Linked DNA regions of Homo sapiens: all the other regions are linked to region 2. The links are contacts of gene promoters, found by promoter capture Hi-C in blood cells and fetal thymus (Javierre and others, 2016). All regions are on one chromosome and are shown on one strand. The core of a region is centred on a gene start or on the middle of the fragment in contact, and the rest is flanking DNA. Distances in the headings are between cores, read along the strand shown.

Region 1 (5,915 bases), core at 2,652-5,151, 170 kb after region 2:
TGACAGACATTAGCAAGCGTGTATGGGTCACTAGGTCATTTGCCATTCATTAGGATTAATCCTGTTTTTGAAATCTTTATTCCCATAGCCTTTTTCAGAACAAAAGGCAACTCTGAGGGCTTTCCTTTTTAACTTGAGCTTTCTCTGATGTCCCTAGTTTCTTGAATCCTTTCTTTATAAAAGTAACCATAAATAGTTATCTATCCAGATCTATTGCAGTCTGTAACCCAAATATTCCACTGAATCCAACAAAAGCAAAAAATGACAATCTTTAAAAAATGTGAATTTACAATTCTACAGTTTAGCCCCAAAAGCACTTGTTAGAAGGATGAAAGCGCCAAAAAACTGGTTTCTTGCCCAAATAAGTTTGGGAATGGGAATGGGTTTAAAAATGATTACAAGGCTTTTTTTTTTTTTTTTTTGAGACAGGATCTTGTTCTGTTGCCCAGGCTGGAGTGCAGTGGCACGATCACAACTCATTGCAGCCTTGACTTCCCAGGCCCAGGTCATCCTCCCATCTCAGCTTCCTGAGTAGCTGGGATCACAGATGCGTACCACCTTGCCCGGCTAATTCTTTTTATTTTTTAAAAAATTTTAAATTAATTAATTAATTAATTAATTTTTTTGAAACAGAGTCTCAGTCTGTTGCCCAGACTGGAGTGCAGTGGCCCAATCTTGGCTCACTGCAACCTCTGCCTCCTGAGTTCAAGCAATTCTCCTGCCTCAGCCTCCCGACTAGCTGTGATTACAGGTGCATGCCACCACGCTCAGCTAATTTTTGTATTTTTAGTGGAGACGGGGTTTCACCATGTTGGTCAGGCTGGTCTTGAACTCCTGACCTCAAGTGATCCGCCCACCTCGGCCTCCCAAAGTGCTAGGAATACAGGTGTCAGGCACCATGCTCAGCTTCTTTTTATTTTTTTATTATTTATTTATTTTTTTGTGAGATGGAGTCTTGCTCTGTTGCCCAGGCTGGAGTGCAGTGGCGCGATCTCAGCTCACTGCAAGCTCTGCCTCCCAGGTTCACGCCATTCTCCTGCCTTAGCCTCCTGAGTAGCTGGGACTACAGGTGCCCGCCACCACACTCGGCTAGTTTTTGCGTTTTTTTTTTTTAGAGATGGGGTTTCACCGTGTTAGCCAGGATGGTCTCGATCTCCTGACCTCGTGATCTGCCCACCTCGGCCTCCCAAAGTGCTGGGATTATAGACGTGAGCCACCGCGCCCGGCCTGCCTCTTTTTATTTTTAATAGAAGTGAGACCTCCCTATGTTGCACAGGCTGGTCTCAAACTCCTAGGCTCAAGTGATCCTCCTGCATCAGCCTCCCAAAGTGCTGGGATTAGAGGCCTGAGCTACTGCATCTGGCCTTATAAGGCCTTTTTACCTCAGGATTCCTTAGAACCTTTAATGTGTTATTAGGCATTGTGAATTTTGAAGGAAATGATATTGTATGTACCATTTACCAACCCAGTTTATCCATGAACCCTTTTCTCCCAAAATACATACTTTCTTTCTGAAGAGTGTACTAAGAAACCCAATTTGGAGAATGCAGTGTCTGGTATAAAACTCCTTGTAGACAGTGGTTGTGTATTTTGATTTTCATTTGAAGACTGCATGTGAAATATACTTAGACAATGCCAAGAATGTTCTCAGCCAGACATCTTTTTTGCCTTCTTCAACTTTCCCACTCCTATTTTCATTAAAAGGTCACTGAAAAGTAGGAAGTGACATTTGTCAGTCACTTTTCTGTCAACTATGACATAGGTAAAGATTCATTTTTCTCCATATTAACATAGTTGGTTCTGGCCAGGCACGGTGGCTCACGCCTGTAATCCTAGCAGTTTGGGAGGCTGAGGCGGGCAGATCACCTGAGATCAGGAGTTCAAGACCCGCCTGGCCAACATGGTAAAACCTGTCTCTACTAAAAATACAAGAAAATAGCTGGATGTGGTGGCGGGCACCTGTAATCCCAGCTACTCGGAAAGATGAGGCAGGAGAATCGCTTGAACCCAGGAGGCAGAGGTTACAGTGAGCGGAGATTGCGCCATTGCACTCCGGCCTGGGCAACAAGAGTGAAATTCCATCTCAAAAAACAAAACAAAACAAACAAACAAACAAAAACATAGTGGCTTCTTAGTAAATATTTTATGATGCTACTAATGATGAAGGCTTGGCAAGTTAAAAAATACATACTCACAAAATACCTAGAATCTTGCCTTTTAGATATTCTAATTTAGAGTCTCATATTTTCTGCTTCCAGTGTTCTTTCAAAACACGAATATATATAGTTTTTTTTTTAAGAGACAGGGTCTCGTTCTGTCACCCATATTGGTGTGCGGTGGCACAATCACAGCTTATTGCAGCCTTGAACTCCTGGGCTCAAGTGATCCTCTTACCTCAGCCTCCTGAGTAGCTGGGACTACAGTTGCATGCCACCACATCCACCTAATTTTTTAAATTTTTTTGTAGAGATGGGTTCTCCCTATATTGCCCAGGCTGGTCTTGAACTCCTGGCCTTAAGTGTTCCTCCTGACTTGGCCTCCTAAAGTGTTAGGATTACATGCGTGAGCCACGGCACCTGGCCTGTATAGTTTTCTTAATGAATCATTAATTACAGCGATACAGAATGTGAATTTTGACAGACCTGAGTTTGAATACTGGCTCTACCATTTACTATGGCCTTGAGCAAGTCAATTCACTTGTCTGGGTCTTGGATTTCTCATTAATGAAGTAGAAATAATCACAATTCCTGACTCTCAGAATAGCTGTGATAAAGAATATATGTGACGAAGAATATAAATAATTTAGGCTGGCCACAGTGGCTCAGAAGTTCAATACCAGCCTGACCAATATAGTGAAACCCTGTGTCTACTAAAAATAAAAAAATTAGCCGGGCATGGTGGCGTGCACCTGTAGTCCCAGCTACTCAGGAGGCTGAGACAGGAGAATTGCTTGAACCCAGGAGGCAGAGGTTGCAGTGAGCCAAGATCACACCACTGCACTCCAGCCAAGGCAACACAGTGAGACTCTGTCTAAAAAAAAAAAAAATTTAGTATAGTGCCTGGCACACAATAGGTAATTTTTGTACTTACTAGTCTTATTGTTTACTTTTTATTACAGATTTTGAGATCAGGAGTGAGAACGAGGTAAATCCCAAGCAAGAGATTAGTGAAGATGTACAATTTGGGACTACATCTGAAAGACCTGCTGAGAATGCTGAGGAAAATCCTGAAAGTGAAGAGGGCTTTGAAAGCGGAGATAGGTCAGAAAGACAATGGGGAGATTTAACAGCAGAAGAGTGGGTAAGCTATCCTCTCCAACCAGTCACTGATCTACTTGTCCACAAAGAAGTCCACACAGGCATCCGCTATCATATATGTTCTCATTGTGGAAAGGCCTTCAGTCAGATCTCAGACCTTAATCGACATCAGAAGACCCACACTGGAGACAGACCCTATAAATGTTATGAATGTGGAAAAGGCTTCAGTCGCAGCTCACACCTTATTCAGCATCAAAGAACACATACTGGGGAGAGGCCTTATGACTGTAACGAGTGTGGGAAAAGTTTTGGAAGAAGTTCTCACCTGATTCAGCATCAGACAATCCACACTGGAGAGAAGCCTCACAAATGTAATGAGTGTGGAAAAAGTTTCTGCCGTCTCTCTCACCTAATCCAACACCAAAGGACCCACAGTGGTGAGAAACCCTATGAGTGTGAGGAGTGTGGGAAAAGCTTCAGCCGGAGCTCTCACCTAGCTCAGCACCAGAGGACCCACACGGGTGAGAAACCTTATGAATGTAACGAATGTGGCCGAGGCTTCAGTGAGAGATCTGATCTCATCAAACACTATCGAGTCCACACAGGGGAGAGGCCCTACAAGTGTGATGAGTGTGGGAAGAATTTCAGTCAGAACTCCGACCTTGTGCGTCATCGCAGAGCCCACACGGGAGAGAAGCCATACCACTGTAACGAATGTGGGGAAAATTTCAGCCGCATCTCACACTTGGTTCAGCACCAGAGAACTCACACTGGAGAGAAGCCATATGAATGCAATGCTTGTGGGAAAAGCTTCAGCCGGAGCTCTCATCTCATCACACACCAGAAAATTCACACTGGAGAGAAGCCTTATGAGTGTAATGAGTGTTGGCGAAGCTTTGGTGAAAGGTCAGATCTAATTAAACATCAGAGAACCCACACAGGGGAGAAGCCCTACGAGTGTGTGCAGTGTGGGAAAGGTTTCACCCAGAGCTCCAACCTCATCACACATCAAAGAGTTCACACGGGAGAGAAACCTTATGAATGTACCGAATGTGAGAAGAGTTTCAGCAGGAGCTCAGCTCTTATTAAACATAAGAGAGTTCATACGGACTAAGCTGTAATTATGATGGCTGAGAAATGATTCATTTGAAGATACAATTTTATTTGATATCAATGAACGCCCTCAAGACTGAGCTGCTTTTATCATACTCTCCTAGTTGTGGGCCACGATTTAAACCATCAGAGATGACAAGCCATTTGAAATTCTGACCCTCAGCTTTGGGAATGTTATCTCCTCCAAAATGGTGATTTTTATTCACTCAATGGGTTACTTCATTAAAAGCAGCCCCACAAGTAACTGGAAATCTGAAGACCAGGGGACAAATGCTGGTGAATGCTTAGGCCTGGAAATGGAGTAAATCTTTCAATGTTATTTTCTCCCATCCTTGGCCCAAGGAACTATGCTAAGTGAAACGTGGGACTGTAATAGGGTGGTAATGGCTGCTTTGGAAAAAGGCAACTAGAGACTCTGCCTAAATTGCCACACCTATTCACACACCATAGTAGTTGGGCACACACATCTTCCCTTCCAAAGGGCTTTTTCCTTGAGTTGCTCATGCATTTGTATCTTTTCCATCTTCCTGAGGGCAAGATTTTGCACGATGAAGGCAATGATTGTAACTTTTCTCCTTCTCATTGTTTCTAATTAGCTCCTTTAAAGCTTGCATCTTTGTGAAGGCTAACTGAAGATACGGTTGGAAAGGAAAAATGAGACACAGGTTTGGGGACCAAGGACCCATCAATGATGGTGACTTTAGCAGAAGATGCCCACAGTTATTACTGCCATTAATCAGATTTATGAATTTTCTTTGGGGATCACTATAGGGAATATTGTATAGAAAATATCTTCAAGAAAAGATAGGACCATCAGTGACAGTTAAGTGTAAGGAGCAAGTGGAATTGAGTCCTTCAGGGAAGGAACCACAGAGTCCCTTCCCAAGGAATGTAGGTCGTTTCTGTGTTCTTTCCCTTCTAATCTTTAAGATCAACTCTTCCTATCCTGCTAACTCTAAGATTTGATAAGGGCCACATCCCAGTGTTTATCTTAGCTTGCATCAGGGCATGTGTATGTACAGTAATGTGTATTCCTGTGGTTTTTCTAATAGAAACTGAATTTACAGAGACTTAGCATGTTCTTGGGTGATGTGAGTCATGTGACAGAAGTACAGACATAACTCCAATGTGAGAAATGTCCTTTTTTCATTATGGAAAATAATTTAAACACTAGTGCTTTAGTGTGCACTCTCCTGTAAGGTCTGTCTTTGTACAGAGCTAAGCACTTGTTTGTATGTGTTTGTCAATTGTGGAAGATAATGACCAGACAAATAGGTCGATTGTCCTATTCTCAGAATGAATTATCTTCTATGGTAATGAAGAACTCTTTGGCTTAGTCAGAAGGAATTAACGAACCTCGGTAGGAATGTATTTCCATCCTCCCACCCTACAGATATAAGAGGTTAAAATAACAGTTCGCCCAATTTAAGCCCAGTAGTGTCAGTTTTCCTAATCTCAGTCCAGGTAGGAATTAAGAAATATCTCAAGTGTTGATGCTATCCAAGCATGTTGGGGTGGAAGGGAATTGGTGCCCAGAAAATGGGA
Region 2 (5,758 bases), core at 477-2,976:
ACCTGTAATCCCAGCACTTTGGGAGGCCAAGTAGGGCGGATTGCCTGAGGTCAGGAGTCCGAGACCAGCGTGGCCAACATGGTGAAACCCTGCCTCTACTGAAAATACAAAAATTAGCCAGGCATGGTGGCTGGCGCCTGTAATCCCAGCTACTCGGGAGGCTGAGGCAGGAGACTCACTTGAACCTGAGGCAGGAGAATTGCACCGCTGCACTCCAACCTGGTGACAGAGTGAGACTCTGTCTAAAAAAAAAAAGTCAGAGATATAACAACAGCTGCCAATTCTTGAGGCTCCTTATGATCCAGGTTCTGTGATGAAAGCTTTATATGCATTATCTCATGAGATTTCCTCATGATCATATGAGGTAAGTGCTATTAGGAGGAGAAAATCAAGGATCAAGGATCAGAGAATTTACAAAATTTGCCTTGGTCACACAATGAATAATAAAGTGTCTGGGCCTGGGTTTGAATTCGGGGCTGTTGGCTACAAAGCCTGGGCTCTTAATCATCATGGGTTATTGCCACCTTGGCCTCAACCATCTAATGAGGAATTAAGCTGTGGACTGTCTCTGGAGGGCTTTGAATGCCAAGGCTCAGACTTGCATAAAAATCACACAGCACCAGGCAAGAAATCAGACCTGAAATCTAGCAGCAGCTTCTAGCAACTTTTTACCACTCACTACCCAAGTTTGCTTCTCTGAGCCTCTCTAAACCGGAGTGATGAGGAATGTATTATCAGCAATGAAGGTTTTTGAATGAGGCAGAGAGGCTCTTGTGACAAAAGGATTGTTTAAAAGAAACCTAGAGATGTTCAAACATTTACTGAGTATTGGGTCCTAATAATACAACTGTGAACAAGACAAAGCTCTGCAGTGGGACTCTGACCCTGCTGTGCCCCCAGGCAGCTTGGGAGAGTAGAAGAACCCCTTAACTGGAAAAACAAGGGCTCCAGAGCTGGGACCTGTCCCAGATTCTGTTGCCAGCTCTCAAATCAGGGAATCTCTCTGTATGACCTTGGGCAAGTTACCCAGCCTTTCAGACTGTCAGTCTTTATCATGGGGATCATCATTCCTCTTCCCAGGATTGTTGGAATAAATTAACTAAAACAACGCTTGTAAGGATCTAGCATGGTGCCTGGCATCCTGTAGGCGCTGAATAGATGTTAGTTTTCCCTACAAAGAAGTAGACTAGTTTGCCTCCGTCCCTCACCCCTCTGCCATTAAAGGGAACAGGTTCCTGGCCTTCATTTTAGCAGGAAAGGGGATATGAATGCACATGTGCTAGCTAAGCAACAATGCAAACTAACAAAAGGGCCTGTGGCCTGGGGAATACACTGCTGGGTCTGGGCTCAGGCTGGGACCCCGCGCCAAAATGTTTCCCTTCAATCCCAGGGAATCCGGGCCCATTTCTCGGGGCGCTGTGCACTGCTCTGGCCGCCTCTGCACTGTGAATCCCGGAACCACCCTCTGTCTCCGTCTCGCCGGCTGCTAACTAGCGCGGCCGGCGGCTGGCGGCACCAACAGCAGGTGTGGCTGCCCCTTTAAGCAGCGAAGCTAGTGTTGCAATCGCCGCCTCGAGGACGCGTTCTTTCCGGGGGGGGGGGGGGGGGTGGAGCCTGTACTGTCGCAGCAGCCAACCGGAGCGCGGCATTTTCCGCGGGAGATCCGAATTTCGCGGCACGACGTTTGGCGCTAAAAAAAAAAAAAAAAGAAGAAAAAAAAGAGGCAGAGAAAGACTCAAGGACTAGAGAGCGAGCCGCAAGGAAGTCGGTGCAGTCGAGACCCCCCTCCCCATCCCAGCGCATCGCGTCTCCGCCGAGCTTGAGGGCACGCCGGGGACCCCTCCCCAGAGCCGGCCGGACCCCAGGTGCCGAGGCCTTGGGGAGCGCGGGGCGTCCCGGGTCGCGGTGCCCTCGGGACGAGACAGCCCCTGGCAGTGCCACCACCGCAGCCGCCGGGCGATCTCCAAGCGGCGATCTCTAAGCGCTGCTCTCTGCTCGGCCGCGGGCCAGGAGGGGAGGGTCCGGCCTTGCCCCGCAGGCGTCCATTGGCGGCTTCCCCCGGCCTCCGCGCCATGCCGCGGGCCGTGTGAAAGGCGGCAGCACCGGAACCCGCAGGTGTCCGCGGGCGCGCCAAGCCCTTTTGGGTAGGGGGCGCCTTACTCGCTATGCTGCAAGGGCCCCGGGCCTTGGCTTCGGCCGCTGGGCAGACCCCGAAGGTGGTGCCCGCGATGAGCCCCACAGAGCTGTGGCCATCCGGCCTCAGCAGCCCCCAGCTCTGCCCAGCTACTGCTACCTACTACACACCGCTGTACCCGCAGACGGCGCCTCCCGCAGCGGCGCCAGGCACCTGCCTCGACGCCACTCCCCACGGACCCGAGGGCCAAGTTGTGCGATGCCTGCCGGCAGGCCGGCTGCCGGTAATGCTGGGGGCCCCCACCGCTTCCCCCTATGCTTTTCCAGGTGTGGGAAAGGAGGGAGGGGTGCCTGAGATCCAGTTTGAGTGGAGCAGGTAGAGTTTTGGGAAGAGGGAAGATGAGCTTTCAGTTTCCAGGACCCAGTGCCCCCAATATCTGAGTAGAAGACCCCTTCATTTTCAGACTTTGGATGAAATAATCTCATCCATTCTAGTGGAGTGGAATGAGCACTGGATTGCGAGTCTGGAGGGAGACCCAACTCACTACTCCCAGTGCACTGTGTGACCTTGGGGAAGTCCATGCAGCCAGCGTTGCCGCCATTCATTCATTACTTCATTGTTTGGCCAGAAACCAGTACTGGGTGCCTGCTATTGTCCAGGCAAAGAGTATGGCCTGGGGACACTGTGGGACTTTGGTAAGACAGAGGGATAGGTCTAGTGGGTCTCTCACATCCAATCTGCCATGGACAGACTCCAAATTGTCCAGCCAGCTCCTGAGATAGCCCCAAGTATCTGCCCTAGGTCCTCCCCCAGGCCCAGTCTTCCCTCCCAGACAGCCATGTAGCAGATACAAATGTGGGCAGCCCCCTTGGGTTCTGTTCAGATTGGCTGCTCTCTCCTCAAGCTCCCAGGCTCGTTGCCAGAGAGGGCCCAAAGTGTAGTGGCACCAGGCTGCCTGCTGACCTGGGCTCAGGGTGTGTTTTGTGGGAGTGGAATTCCTGGAGCCCGTGTGAATCAAAACAACTTTAGGGTGGGGGGTGGAGTGGGAAAAGCCTGGGGGAGTGGAGGTGGTGGTGGTTGAGGAGCCTGGTTTCTGGTGTGACTCTGCCACTAATTCTCTGTGTGTCCTTGGACAAGTCTTGGACCCAGTCTGGGCTTCAGTGTTCTCTCCTTCACAATGCGTGTGTGCACAGGGTGGCTGTGGGGCTAGCTCTTCTCAGCCACATTCAGCTCCAGGTCCTGGGTTTTGGAAGCAGGCTCCAGGGAGAGGAAGGGGGTGTTGTAGGTTTGCTTAGTTGTGAGTTTGGTGAATAAGTTCGGGTACAGGGATAAGACCACCCCCCACTGCCCCAGAGGCATCTGGTCAGACCTGTGCTAGTCAGCAAGCACGGATGCCCAGCCAGCTCTGGATGCAGGCAGAGCCACCACTCCCTGCCAGTGGACTCAGGCTTTGCCCATGTTCAAAACGTTAACCTTCCTGGAGACCCTTCCTGCACATGATTTCTAACTAGGAGGGCAGTGGGCAGGAATGGTATTATCCCCATTTTACAGGTTAAGCAACCGAGGATAACTGGGATTGGGTATCTTGTGTTCAGTGTTTTATAGCCTAAAACATCTTTGTAGTTCGTGAAATAGATGGCATTAATAGCTCCATGTTACAGGGGGAAACTGAGGCTCAGAGAGGGGATGTGACCTAAGGTCAGAGATGGGGATGGGGTAGAGTGATGGGACTCACAAGGCAGTCAGCTCTTCTGTCTTTTATTTTTTATTTTTTGTAGAGACAGGGGTCTCCCTATGTTCCCCAGGCTGGTCTCAAACTCCTGGGCTCAAGCAATCCTCTTGCCTCAGCCTCCCAAAGTGCTGGGATTACAGGCATGAGCTAGCTACTCTAATGCACCTGGTCAGGCAGCAGGCTCTTCTCTATGTAGCCTTGACTTTTTTTAATACTGCCTAACTTAGGAGCTGAGCTCCCCCCAGGGAAGGGAGCTTTGCGGCAGGCCCACTCTCCTCTGGCCAGCTGCTTTCAGACTGGAAGTTTCAGTAACAGCTGTGGTTTTACACTGCTTTGAACCCTCCCAGAGGAGCCCAAGTACATCTGTCTGTACCTCCCTCCCAGAAGGGCTCAGTGATCTTAGCAAGAAGGTCTCTCTTTTACTGAGTGCCTCTCGTGTGCCAGACACTGCTTGGCACTCTTCACGTTCATTATCTTGGTCAGGATGTCCAGAATGAGGCACCTTGCAGATAAGGAAACTGAGCAAAGAAAGGAAGTCACTTGCCTGGGTCACAAGTGAAGAAGCAGGGGAGTCTCCTTGCAGCAGACCACCCTAAAGCCCTGCCAGGCCCAGAGCTCCCGCTCCTGTCAATCCCCAGATGCCCGGGGCCCAGCCCCGTGGGCAGGCCTGCCCTCTGCTTACTCATTTTACAAGGGCGTGACCTGGAACAGCTCCAAACCCAACCCTGGGTGTGGCCGCTTGCTTTGTGGCCGGGCTGCAAAGTGCAGGGTGAGCAGGATTTGTTGTGGAGCTTCTGTTTAAAGGGACCTCAGGCACTGTCCAAGGATGGCAACCAAGTTCAATGGCAGAATGAAGGCCACAACCCAGATCTCCTGGCTCCCTGTCCAGAGCTCTTTCCAAGTCCTCTGAGGAAGGCTCAGGGAATGCCCCTTTATCGCATGCCTCCTCTGGCCAGGCGCATGGCATCATTCTCTTTCACGCCTGCAGGAAGCTCTGCCCAGGCTGGCTTGCAATAGCGCCATCTCTGCTCACTGCAAACTCCACCTCCCAGGTTCAAATGATTCTCCTGTCTCAGCCTCCCAAGTAGCTGGGATTACTTTTTGTATTTTTAGTAGAGATGGGGTTTCACCATGTTGGCCAGGCTAGCTTCGAACTCCTGACCTCAGGTGATCCACCCGCCTTGGCCTCCCAAAGTGCTGGGATTACAAGCGTGAGCCACCACGCCCGGTCCTCCTTTTCTTTCAATTTGTCTACATTTTCCAGATTTCCTCTTGTGAGGCATGAAAGAAAATAAACATTTTAACACACAACTCTACAAGGCAGGTCAGGTGAGGAGGTGTAGGCTCAGAGAGGCAAGACAGTGAATCCCAGGCTGTTCAGCTACGAAGTGGCAGAGCTGGGATCTGAAAGCAAGGTTCGACCCCTTACATTTGCTCCTACCCCCACCATCTGACTTAGGGCTTAGGAGAGACCAGGCTCCACTCTGCGTGACCTTGGGCAAGTCAATTCCTCTTCCCCAAGTCCCAGTTTCCTCACCGTGGTGCCCGTAAGGGGGTTGTGCCTGGTGATCTCTGACCCTCTGCACTTCTGCAGCTGCCTGAGGAAGGAGCTGTACTCTTCTCCATAGGGGTTGGCAGGGTGGGCTTGCGTCCTGACCAGGCCTTGAAGATCCAGCCAAAGGGGCTGCCTAAGAGCGTCCAGGATAGGGCTAAGCTGGCCTCTGGCTGTGGCCATAGCCTTTGCTCTCCTCCCCTCATCGCAGTCTCTTTTCAGCTCACCCTTGAACTTTCCCCTTTTCCCACTGGTGCTCCCCATACATCAGTGCTAGCAGCTCCCTGGTGGGGGCACTCCCTATGGGCAAAGCGCTTTGCTGCACTATCTCACTGAATCC
Region 3 (6,025 bases), core at 3,190-5,689, 200 kb after region 2:
TCTGTGTGCAGTTGAATATACTTACATATATGAAATGCAGTGTATATATTTTCTGTCAAGTTTACTTGTAAGACCATAAAGTCTTTATTGCCATTTGAAAATGATTGTCGTTCTTGACAGTCAATGTGAATGCCACAGCATCTTTTAAATCTCAGCTTGTCACTTCAGAAGAACAAAGAATGCCTTAAAGTATGACTTTCAGAATTGATTAATCAAGCTGCACTTGCATTTGTAGAAGTTTAAAATTATGCCTTTCCACATTCTGACTGCAGCAAAGTGGATGCTCAGATAAACAAATGCATTTCAGTTTATCTTTGGTGTTCAGGAGGGAAAGCCTTTTGACACTTTTTGGAGAGTGGAAAGAATTACTTAGTAAAATTTGTTTTCAGATTTTCCTCCACCTCTTAGGTGGTTAGCATCAACTGTAACCGTCTGTAATTTGAAGGTTTATCCTTGGAAAACGCAATGTATTCTTATCACTCTAATATAAACCAAAATTTGTTGTATTAATGCATAATCTGTAATACAGTATGTACATCAGATTTAACTTTCAAGACTTATACCTTTGGGGGAGTGGGAAATGGATGTTAGGATTTGGCGGGGGAGGTTTGTGGATATGGAGATTGAAATTCATGTTTTTGGTTGTTGACATTTTATCTTTATTTTCATATTTGTCCTGGACCTTTCTATGTAGTATTTGGATAGCTGCGTATATGCATATAGTTAAATGAAAATACAGTTTGTTAGTGATCATATTGAATGTAACAATTCTTGATTAAACGTCAGTAGAGCTTAGATTACCCCTTTTGTTGCAATAACGTTACCCCTTTCAATTTAATTTTTAGGATTGGTAGCTTATGTCGATCTTGATGAAAGAGCAATTGATGCTCTCAGGGAATTTAATGAAGAAGGAGCTCTGTCTGTACTACAGCAGTTCAAGGAAAGTGACTTATCACATGTTCAGGTAAGGTCGTTACTCAGAAATGTCTTTGAACAATTAGTAATCTGAAATTATTTTACTATTACTTTTTTTCCTATGGAGAAGTGGTATTTTTTGTTTGTGACTACCTCTTCTTTTAAAAAATTAGTTTAAAGGAAAAAAACTGCTTGTGGCAGAGTTTCAGAAGCCCAAGTATAAAGCAAAAGTTTTCTCCCACCCCCTTGTGCAGTAAGTTATTTTAAAAACTTAAAATTAAAGCCAAGTTTTGATGGTTGTTACTATAGGTTTTTACATGTTACTCAGCTTTTTAACATTTGGGGGTTATTTGATCCTGTTTTATTATCTTGGAGGAAAATGTAGGTGGGAGGAATAGTTTCCGACATCTGGCAAAGACAGTCTAGATACAGTCACATATCAACAAGTGGAAGACTGTGTTTTCCCAGGGTAGAAGGTAAGCTCCCTGAGGTCTATACTGCCTTACTGCTGTCTGCTCCAATCTCTGGCACATAGTAACCACTCGGCAAATACTTGTTGAATGAATCAGTAAATCTTTTGTTAAAATCCTGGTTTTCTGAAATTTAAATTTAATTATGTATCTGACCCTTCAGATATTTTTGGTGATTCTTTTTATTGAATTACTTGTCTGTTCTAGAACAAAAGTGCATTTTTATGTGGAGTTATGAAGACCTACAGGCAGAGAGAGAAACAGGGGAGCAAGGTGCAAGAGTCCACAAAGGGACCTGATGAAGCGAAGATCAAGGTAAAACTTGACTTGGGTAGTTGTAATGAAATTGCATTTAATGATGAGGTCAAATGCCTCTTTCCATGTTTCCTAGAAAGTTTCACTTTTTTTTTTTTTGAGACGGAGTCTTGCTCTGTCGCCCAGGCTGGAGTAGCGGCGCAGTCTTGGATCACTGCAAGCTCCACCTCCCAAGTTCATGCCATTCTCCTGCCTCAGCCTCCCAAGTAGCTGGGATTACAGCCATGCACCACCACACCCAGCTAATTATTTGTATTTTTAGGAAAGATAGGGTTTCACTGTGTTGGCCAGATTGGTCTCGATCTCCTGACCTTGTGATCCGCCCACCTCGGCCTTCAAAGTGCTGGGATTACAGACGTGAGCCACCACGCCCAGCTGAAAGTTTCACTTTTCAAAACTAGTGTTTAGAAATGAAATAATTTAGAGGAATTACATAAGAAGGATAATTTTGGGGATCGACACTCAATTGCATGTTTAATGAAAAGCCCTAATTCATACTCTTCCTCATTCCCTCTTTTGTGGCCATGAATGACGTATATTTATTGATGCTTCGCTGGTAGTTTCTTGGATTGATCCAGTAATGTCTCTTGGTTCAGTTATTTTCCAGCCACTTTGTTTCTTTTCTCTTGATAAAAAGGTTATAACTTGATAAAAAGTTGTTATAACTGCTTTCCTCCTTTTGAATATTCAGTTACCTCAGTTTCTTTATTTATAAAATGGGGATAGTAATAGTGACTACCTTACAGAGTTATTGTAAGGAGTAAATGAATTAACATATATAAAGCACTTAGAATAATGCCTGGAATGTAGCAAGAACTATATAACCATGAACCATTATTATTATTACCATTTTATTACTTAGATAAACAGCTTTGAAAAGGTAAATATACAGCTTTTAATGAAAGACCAGTGAACCTAATTCCTTAGTTAAATGGATACTCGTGTCTTGCTGTAGTGACATACTTTTCTTTTTTTTTTTTTTTTTTGAGACAGAGTCTCACTCTGTGGCCCAGGCTGGAGTGCTGGAGTGCAGTAGCGCCATCTCAGCTCATCTCAGCTCACTTCAACCTCTGTCTCCTGGGTTCAAGCGATTCTCCTGCCTCAGCCTCCTGAGTAGCTGGGACTACAGGCGTGCGCCACCACATCCAGCTAATTTTTTTTTTTTTTTTTTTTTTTTTTTTTGAGACGGAGTCTCCCTCTGTCGCCCAGGCTGGAGTGCAGTGGCGCGATCTCAGCTCATTGCAAGGTCTGCCTCCTGGGTTCACGCCATTCTCCTGCCTCAGCCTCCTGAGCAGCTGGGACCACAGGTGCCTGCTACCATGCCCGGCTAATTTTTTTTTTCTTGTATTTTTAGTAGAGACAGGGTTTCACTATGTTAGCCAGGATGGTCTCAATCTCCTGACCTCATGATCCGCCCGCCTCGGCCTCCCAAAGTGCTGGGATTACAGGCGTGAGCCACCGTGCCTGGCTGCTAATTTTTTTTGTTTTTTGGTAGAGTCGGGGTTTCACTGTGTTAGCCAGGCTGGTCTCAAACTCCTGACCTTGGGGGATCTGCCTACCTCACCCTCCCCAAAGTGCTGGGATTACAGGTGTGAGCCACCATATCCGGCCTGTGATAGACTTTTTTTTTTTTTTTTGAGACGGAGTCTCGCTCTGTCGCCCAGGCTGGAGTGCAGTGGCGGGATCTCGGCTCACTGCAAGCTCCGCCTCCCGGGTTCACGCCATTCTCCTCCCTCAGCCTCCCGAGTAGCTGGGACTACAGGCGCCCGCCACTACGCCCGGCTAATTTTTTGTATTTTTAGTAGAGACGGGGTTTCACCATTTTAGCCGGGATGGTCTCGATCTCCTGACCTCGTGATCCGCCCGCCTCAGCCTCCCAAAGTGCTGGGATTACAGGCGTGAGCCACCGCGCCCGGCTGTGATAGACTTTTTAATTAGAAATAGTTATTGTATGTTGAAGTTATTTCTATTATTATTACATTGTAATATGTAATGAAATAATTATACAACTCACCATAATGTAGAATCAGTGGGATCCCTGAGCTTGTTTTCCTGCAACTAGATGGTGCCATCTGGGCATACTGGTAGATGGTGACAGATCTTCAAGCATTAGATTCTCATAAGGAGCATGCAACCTAGATCCCTTGTATGCACACTTCACAATAGGATTCACCCTCCTGTGAGAACCTAATGCGGCTGCTGATCTGACAGGAGGTGGAGCTCACAGCTCAGGCAGTAATGCCAATGATAGGGAGGATGAGGAGCGGCTGTAAATACAGATGAAGCTTTGTTCTCACTTGCCCGCTATTTACCTCCTGCTATGCAGCCCGGTTCCTAACAGGCCATGGACCAGTACGGGTCTGTGGCCCAGGGGTGTGGGGACCCCTGTTTTATATTACATTTATGGCTCTGTTTCAGTCAAAGGTAGAAGAATGGAAGGCCGAAGGCATGCATCCCTGTGAAATCCTAGTGTTCACTGAACTTGATGATATCTAAAGTCTCTTATTGTTCTGACATTGTGTAATTTTAAAAACCTGGCTGGGCTCTGTGGCTCACGCCTGTAATCCCAGCACTTTGGGAGGCTGAGGCGGGTGGATCACGAGGTCAGGAGATCGAGACCATCCTGGCTAACAACGGTGAGGCCACCTGTCTACTAAAAATACAAAAAATTAGCCGGGTGTGGTGGCAGGCGCCTGTAGTCCCAGCTACTTGGGAGGCTGAGGCAGGAGAATGGCGTGAACCCGGGAGGCGGAGCTTGCAGTGAGCCAAGATCGCGCCACTGCACTCCAGCCTGAGCGACAGAGCGAGACTCCGTCTCAAAAAAAAAAAACCAAAAAAACTGAAGTGTAAATTTCTCTTTTCTAGGTAGATTGTGTTTCTTTGTTTACCATTGTATCTTTTCTTCTCTAAGCTCTTTATATAGATGTTGCCTCAATTATAACATAAATTCCTGAGAGCAAGGAGATTATCTTCTTTTCTATGATTGCTCTTAATACCTAATAGAATGTAAGGAAGGTTGGTAATCAGGAAACACAAGATTTTACTTATTTTTCGGAACCTGACTATACTTATTTGGTAATTGCCAAATATTTTTAGTCTGTACTGTATGATTCTTGTCTGATTACCTGATTCTTGTGGAGCTTATGATATGGCAGGAGTACAAACCAGAAGGATCAAACAAAATCAAGCTTAAATGATGGAACTTTAAGTACACTAGAGGCTGGGTATGGTGGCTCATTCCTGTAATCCCAGCACTTTGGGAGGCCAAGTCGGGTGGATCACGAGATCAGGAGATTGAGACCATCCTGGCTAACACGGTGAAACCCTGTCTTTACTAAAAATACAAAAAATTAGCCGGGCGTTGTGGCGGGTGCCTGTAGTCCCAGCTGCTCGGGAGGCTGAGGCAGGAAAAGGGCGTGAACCTGGGAGGCGGAGCTTGCAGTGAGCCGAGATCGCGCTACTGCACTCCAGCCTGGGTGACACAGCGAGACTCCGTCTCAAAAAAAAAAAAAAAAAAAAGTACACTAGAAAGACAGTGGGGGCTGGGCACAGTGGCTCACACCTGTACTCCTAGCACTTTGGGAGGCCAAGACAGGCGGATCTCATGAGGCCAGGAGTTCCTGACCAGCCTGGCCAACATGGTGAAACCCCATCTCTACTAAAAATACAAAAATTAGCTGGGCGTGGTGGCACATGCCTGTAATCCCAGCTACTTGGGAGGCTGAGACAAGAGAATCTCTTAGACCCGGGAGGCAGAGGTTGCAGTGAGCCGAGACGATGCCACTGCACTCCAGCCTGGGCAACAGAGCAAGACTCCATCTCAAAAAAAAAGAAGAAAAGACAGTAGGGAGAAATGGATGTGAGTAATAGTAAATGAGAGAAGCTGCATGAAGGAGGTAAGACTTGTGCTAATTTTTTTAAGGATAGAGAACATTTTATTTGAAAAGACTCACCAGTAGAAACATGTATGGGGAACCAGTGCGAATTTTGACTTTTTTTTTTACCTAACCATAAAAATATATCTCCTAGGAAGTTGGAGTCCTTTTTGGAAAAGATTAATACACTGATGCTTGTGTGTGAGATTTAGTACTCAAGTATAAAGAGATGTATAATTATCTCTAGGCCTTGCTTGAGAGAACTGGTTATACTCTGGATGTAACCACAGGACAGAGGAAGTATGGTGGTCCTCCACCAGACAGTGTGTACTCTGGCGTGCAACCTGGAATTGGAACGGAGGTAAGTGTTCTTTAGCAGTTTACCAAGATCTTTCCAGTTTGGAAAGTGTTTTATCTACTATGCAGATACTGTACAGACGGGGGAAAATT
Region 4 (5,545 bases), core at 2,257-4,756, 240 kb before region 2:
TCCTCCCACGGCTTGAAGACGCCGCGGCCGCTGCCCTCGCGGCTCTCGTTAAGGCATTGCAGCCGCTCCAGGTCGATGCGCAGGTACAGGCCGTAGGCCAGGCCGCGCTGCTCGGGCGGCTCCTCCCGTTCGGCGGCGCAGCGGCAGCCACCCCCGCCGTGGCTGTGACCGTGCGACATGGCAACGCCGCCACCTGCGCGTCCTCTCGGCCCCACCGCCGCGCTCGCTCGGCTCGGCTCGCCTCAGACCAGCTCCGCGCCGTTCAGCTCCGGCAACTAAGCGCGCCGCGCCTGCCGCGTCGTAAAAAGCGCCGCTGCGCGGCGCATGCGCGTGGGGAGAAGGCGGGGGGGCGGGGGGGGTGGGGTCGAGCGGAACTGACGTAGGACGCGCGCCTCCCAGGTGCCAGAGTTCGTATATGACTCCAGTCCTGGCGCTGGATGCTGCTGCTGTTCCAGCTTCCTAGGTGTGGAAACTGAAGGACCAAGAGATTAAACAGGTGTGCTGAGTAAACTCACAGGCTGAGATTCGAATTATCCTCCCCCGACGAGGATGGAGCCTTCGCTGTCTTCCTTGATCGCCACGTTTCTTTGCGAGCCGATGAAGGAAAGCGTGAGGAATGATAAGGCCCTGGAGACTGGAGAACGCGAGCTTATCGCTGTCTCACATGCGCACGGCTTAGACGTTGAGAGCTCACAGGCCCACTTGCATAACCACTTTCTTGATAGCGGGGTTACAGCTTGAGAGCATGGGGCTTTGTGCACGGCCAGACCTAAAGACTACTCCTGGGTCTGCTACTGGCCATTGTGACACCTTAAGTCATTTCCCCTATTCTGAGACTCCGTTTCCCCGTCTGTAAGGTGGAAAGAATAGTATCTGTTTCATAGGATCACAGTGAGTATTAAATGAAATAATGCAATTAAAGAACTCAGCAGGCCGGGCGCGGTGGCTCACGCCTGTAATCCCAGCACTTTGGGAGGCCGAGGCGGGCGGATCACGAGGTCAAAAGATCGAGACCATCCTAGCCAACATGATGAAACCCCGTCTCTACTAAAAATACAAAAATTAGCTAGGCGTGGTGGCGCGAGCCTGTAGTCCCAGCTACTCGGGAGGCTGAAGCAGGAGAATCGCTTGAACCCGGGAGGCAGAGGTTGCAGTGAGCCGACATCGCGCCACTGCACTCCAGCCTGGCGACAGAGCAAGACTCTGTCTCAAAAAGAAAAAAAAAGAAAAAACTCAGCAAATGGCTGACACATGATGGGCATTCAGTAGCCGATGGTTATTACGGTCAAATCCAACCACAGCAACTTACTAGCTGCGTGGCCTTGGGCAAGTGACTTGATCTTCTGAGACTCAGTTTACCCCCTGTGAAGTGAAGGGATTGGACTAGATGATCTCTGCGTTTCCTCCCCCATGTGATATTTCAAAGTACTTTTTTTCGAACAGCTGGTTGTGGCCTGTCAATAGGTTTTAAAATCCGTTTATAGAGAATTGTGATCAACATTTAAAAAAAAAATAGAATACAAAAAAAAAAAAACCCAGAATGTATCACACATTTCAAGTCTCAATTGATGAAACTTTTGTTTCAGTTTTGAGTTTGTATTCAGACACAATATGATGTGTTTTTCATATTGTGGGTTGAGATCAAAATAATTAAAAGTCACTGTTTAGAGGTGAAATAATCTTGTTTTCAGGATAGAATGTTTTCCTACTCCCTGGTGGGGAAAAGACAGGATACAGAAAGAGAGTTATGGGATACCCTGGCTACCCTCTTCCCTTCACATCTGGCTCTGGAGTGCTCAGTGGGGCTGGTGAAGTATAGACCAAAATATCCATTTTTTCAAGTTCCATTCAGAAATATTTTCTGGGCCACATGCAGTGCCTCATGCCTGTAATCTCAGCACTTTTGGGAGGCCAAGGTGGGAGGATCACTTGAGCCCAGGAGTTTGAGACTAGCCTGGGCAACATAGGGAGACCCCATCTTTACAAAAATAATTAAAAATATTAGCCCAGCATGGTGGCTCATGCCTGTGGTCCCAGCTATTTGGGAGGCTGAAGTGGAAGGATCTCCTGAGCCTGGGAGGGTGAGGCTGTAGTGAGCTGTAATCATACCACTGCACTCCAACCTGGGTGTCAGAGCAAGACTGTCTCAAAAAAATAAAAACAAGAAAAATATTTTGATGTCCTATTTTAGTTACTTGTGCAATAAGCAAGCTTGGTTCTGTTTCAAAATAGCTCAGTGCCGTGAATTATTCCTGCTTTTAGGTCACAGTTTCAGGTAAGGGACCTGGAATGTGGCAAACAGTAAATGTTTACTTGACTGATATACTTGGTAGCCTTTCTTTGGTAAGAGTGTCCTTTTGAAGAACCAACTCAGGCCTTACCCCGGAGATCTACTCATTTTGGCTTTTTCCTGTTGCCTTCATTAATGATTTATTTGAGCACTGTGTGCTAAGCACATTATGTAGTTCATCTCAATTAATTGTCACATGAACTTTAAGAGCTAGGTACAGCCAGGTGTGGTGGCTCACACCTGTAACACTTTGGGAGGCCGAGGCGGGTAGATCACTTGAGGTCAGGAGTTTGAGACCAGCCTGGCCAGCATGGTGAAACCCCGTCTCTACTAAAAATAGAAAAATTAGCCAGGCATCGTAGCGTGTGCCTGTAATCCCAGCTACTCGGGAGGCTGAGGCAGGAGAATCGCTTGAACCCAGGAGGCAGAGGTTGCAGTGAGCCGAGATTGTGCCACTGCACTCCAGCCTGAGCGACAGAGCGAGACTCCATCTCAAAAAAAAAAAAAAGAGAGCTAGGTGCTATTACCTACTGTTATCTCCAATTTGAAGATGAGGAAAACTGAGGCTGAAAGAGGCAAACTAACTTGTCTGAGACTAGGTAAAGTTAGGAGGTAACCAGGCTTTGAACACATCCTGTAGTGTTCTTGTAACACATCAGTAGTTTCCTGGTTAGGGTGGGGAGGTTGAGGCGGGAGGTGCACACAAAGTAAATATGCTGTATCAATTAGCTTATGCTGTGTAACAGATTACCCTAAAACTTTGATAGCTTTAAACAACAAACATTGATTAATTCGCATGATCCTGTGGATTAGCTTTTCTGGGCCAGTTCAGCTTGGGCTGGAAAGTTTGGGATGGTCTCACTCTCGTCTGCTTGATGCTGGCTGTTAGCTGGGATGATGGGACCACGTGTCTCCAGCAGACAAGCCTAGCTAAATTACATGGTGATAATTGCAGAGTTCCCAGGAGCAAGAGAGGGCAAGACTCAATTGCACAAGCACTTTTTTTTTTTTTTTTTTTTTTGAGATGGAGTCTTGCTCTGTCACCTAAGCTGGAGTGCAGTGGCACAATCTCCGCTCACTGCAACCTCCCCCTCCCGGGTTCAAGCGATTCTCCTGCCTCAGCCTTCCGAGTAGCTGGGATTACAGGCGCCTGCCACCACGCCTGGCTAATTTTTGTATTTTTAGTAGAGATGGGGTTTCACCATGTTGGGCAGGCTGGTCTCAAACTTCTGACCTCAGGTGATCTGCCCACCTCGGCCTCCCAAAGTGCTAGGATTACAGGCATGAGCCACTGCGCCCTGCCAGCACAAGCACTTTTTAAGCCTTACATCTATAATCTTTCTATAATGACCCATCAGCCAAATCCAAATTCTAGAGTGGAGAGCTAGACTGTAGACTTCACCTCCTGATTGGAAGAACTGCAAAATACTGTGGCTCCTCCCCTCCCAGTAGGTCTGTATTAGTTGTCTTTTGTTGTGTAACAAATTATTCCCAAACTTAATGGCTTAAAACTGTAGCAGGACAAGCTGCAGATAAAACCTGTCAGACACCAGGTTAAAGAAGGAAGAGACTTTATTCGGCCAGGAGCGTTGGCAGAGTTGTGTCTCAAGAACCAAGCTCTCCAAAGAAAAAGTTCCTGGCCCTTTTAAGGGCTTATAACTCTAAGGGGGTCCACGTGAAAGGGTTGTGATAGATTGAGCAAGTGATCTATAGGTAACACATGTGGTTAGGGTGGGGGCGTTAATCTTTAACCTCAGGCCTGGTAAGTGGCATCAGTTGGTCTTGCCACTGACTTCATTCCTGTTGTTTTTCAGCTTTTACTTCTTCCTTCTCTTCAGAGACAGTAAGAGAAATGGCCTCTCTCCTCAAAACAACAATTAACATTTATCATCTCACAGTTTCTGTGAGTTAGGAATTTGAGAGCGTCCTAGCTGGGTGGTTCTGGCTTGGGGTCTCTCATGAGCCTGAAATCATATGAAGGCTTGGCCAGGGCTGGAGAAGCCCCGGCTGGCAAGTTTGTGCAGGCTCTTGGCAGGAGGCCCCAGTTCCTTAACACATGGACCTCTCAATAGTACTGTTTGAGTGTCCTCATGATACAGCAGCTGGTTTTCAGCAGAACAAGTGATCTAAGGGCAAGGTAGAAACCACCAATGTCTTTTATGACCTAGCCACAGAAGTCCCATATTGTCAATTTTGCAACATCCCATGGTTTCACAGGTCAGCCATATTCAGTGTGTGCGGGAACTTCATAAGAGTGCAGATACCAGGAGGTAGAAATCATTAGAGGCCACCTTAGTGGCTGGCTACCATGCTGCCATACATGTTAAGTGGCACTGAAAATGGCTTTATTCTACTGTACTTAATTAGTAGTTTGGCTGTGGATAGAATTCTTTCATAATTGTGAAGAAATTGCTCTGGTTTTCTTCTGGCTTTGATAAATACAATGCTGTTCTGAATCCTGATTCTTTTTATGGGTTTTCCCCCCACCCCACCCCGTTTTCTGGAAGCTTTTAAGATCTTCTCTTGGTATTCTAGAATGTGATGATTTTTGTTGTGCTTTGGTCTCTTTTGTCATTCATTGTGCTGGATACCTGAGGGACCTTTTCAATTTAGAACCCCTAGAACAAAGTGTGAGCACACAGGTTAGGACCTCTGCATGCGTGGACACAAGGCCCTTCCAGGCACACAGATTTAGAGATATGGAGAGAATGGGGCAGGGCTAGGGTCCTGTTCTCTGCCTCTCACCACCTTCTAGTACAGAACTCTGAGAGGCCCAAAAATGTGAATGTGGTCTTCCAGGTCATTGTGAAGGTTTATTTATTGACATAGCAGAATAGATTGTCTTTTATTTAATAGTTCATTAGGGTCATTTATAACTTTTTAAGTATGCATTCAGCTGTATTCTTGCTCCTGTCCTGCAAATATTAGGTTTGGCCTGCTAGGCAAATTGCTTAACCTCTCTAGGTCTCAGATTTTTTTCTTTTTTCTTTTTATTTATTTATTTTTCTAGGCCTCAGATTTGTCTTACATAAAATGGGAATCATAACAGTACCTATGTTGTGGAGTGCTATGACAGTAATGTGAAATAACACATGAAAGTGTTTGGTATAACATCTGGTCCACAGGGAAAGGCTATTACTGTAGCCGCCCCCCTCCCCTGCCCCTGACTCGGTTTTGCTTTCTGTGGTTTCAGTTACATGCAGTCAACCACTGTCCAAAAATATTAAATGGAAATTTTCAGAAATAAACCATCTG

Evidence for each region. The method cuts DNA at HindIII sites, captures the fragments that hold promoters and counts their contacts. A CHiCAGO score of 5 or more calls a contact.
Region 1: a fragment that was not itself captured here is called in contact with the fragment with the promoter of E2F2 in region 2 in 1 of 17 cell types (fetal thymus); the score reaches 5.0 in fetal thymus.
Region 3: a fragment that was not itself captured here is called in contact with the fragment with the promoter of E2F2 in region 2 in 5 of 17 cell types (fetal thymus, naive B cells, erythroblasts and 2 more); the score reaches 6.0 in fetal thymus.
Region 4: a contact is called between a fragment that was not itself captured here and the fragment with the promoter of E2F2 in region 2, in 1 of 17 cell types (fetal thymus). The highest score is 6.6, in fetal thymus.

What each region holds. Positions count from the first base shown.
Region 1 is chr1:23,360,425-23,366,339 of GRCh38, reverse strand. It overlaps ZNF436 (zinc finger protein 436), which reads left to right. Exons shown (of 4, transcript NM_001077195.2): 4 at 3,119-5,915. The coding sequence ends at 4,371. Among named protein-coding and RNA genes, the nearest start is that of ZNF436-AS1, 5.6 kb to the left of the region's middle. The HindIII fragment of the contact is 336 bases long and covers 3,734-4,069 here.
Region 2 is chr1:23,527,201-23,532,958 of GRCh38, reverse strand. It overlaps E2F2 (E2F transcription factor 2), which reads left to right and starts at 1,726. Exons shown (of 7, transcript NM_004091.4): 1 at 1,726-2,417. The coding sequence starts at 2,166. It overlaps LOC101928163 (a long non-coding RNA gene), which reads right to left. Exons shown (of 3, transcript NR_110799.1): 3 at 4,540-5,554. RefSeq lists silencers at 1,495-1,634, 2,172-2,320, 4,476-4,672 and an enhancer at 4,328-4,457. The HindIII fragment of the contact is 7,412 bases long and covers 323-5,758 here.
Region 3 is chr1:23,333,429-23,339,453 of GRCh38, reverse strand. HNRNPR (heterogeneous nuclear ribonucleoprotein R) reads left to right here. Exons shown (of 11, transcript NM_005826.5): 3 at 846-964; 4 at 1,593-1,700; 5 at 5,823-5,936. Among named protein-coding and RNA genes, the nearest start is that of HNRNPR, 7.8 kb to the left of the region's middle. The HindIII fragment of the contact is 903 bases long and covers 3,988-4,890 here.
Region 4 is chr1:23,773,150-23,778,694 of GRCh38, reverse strand. ELOA-AS1 (ELOA antisense RNA 1) reads left to right here and starts at 398. Exons shown (of 4, transcript NR_038280.1): 1 at 398-496. It overlaps PITHD1 (PITH domain containing 1), which reads right to left and starts at 277. Exons shown (of 6, transcript NM_020362.5): 1 at 1-277. The coding sequence starts at 179. RefSeq lists a silencer at 38-347 and an enhancer at 601-1,553. The HindIII fragment of the contact is 2,586 bases long and covers 2,214-4,799 here.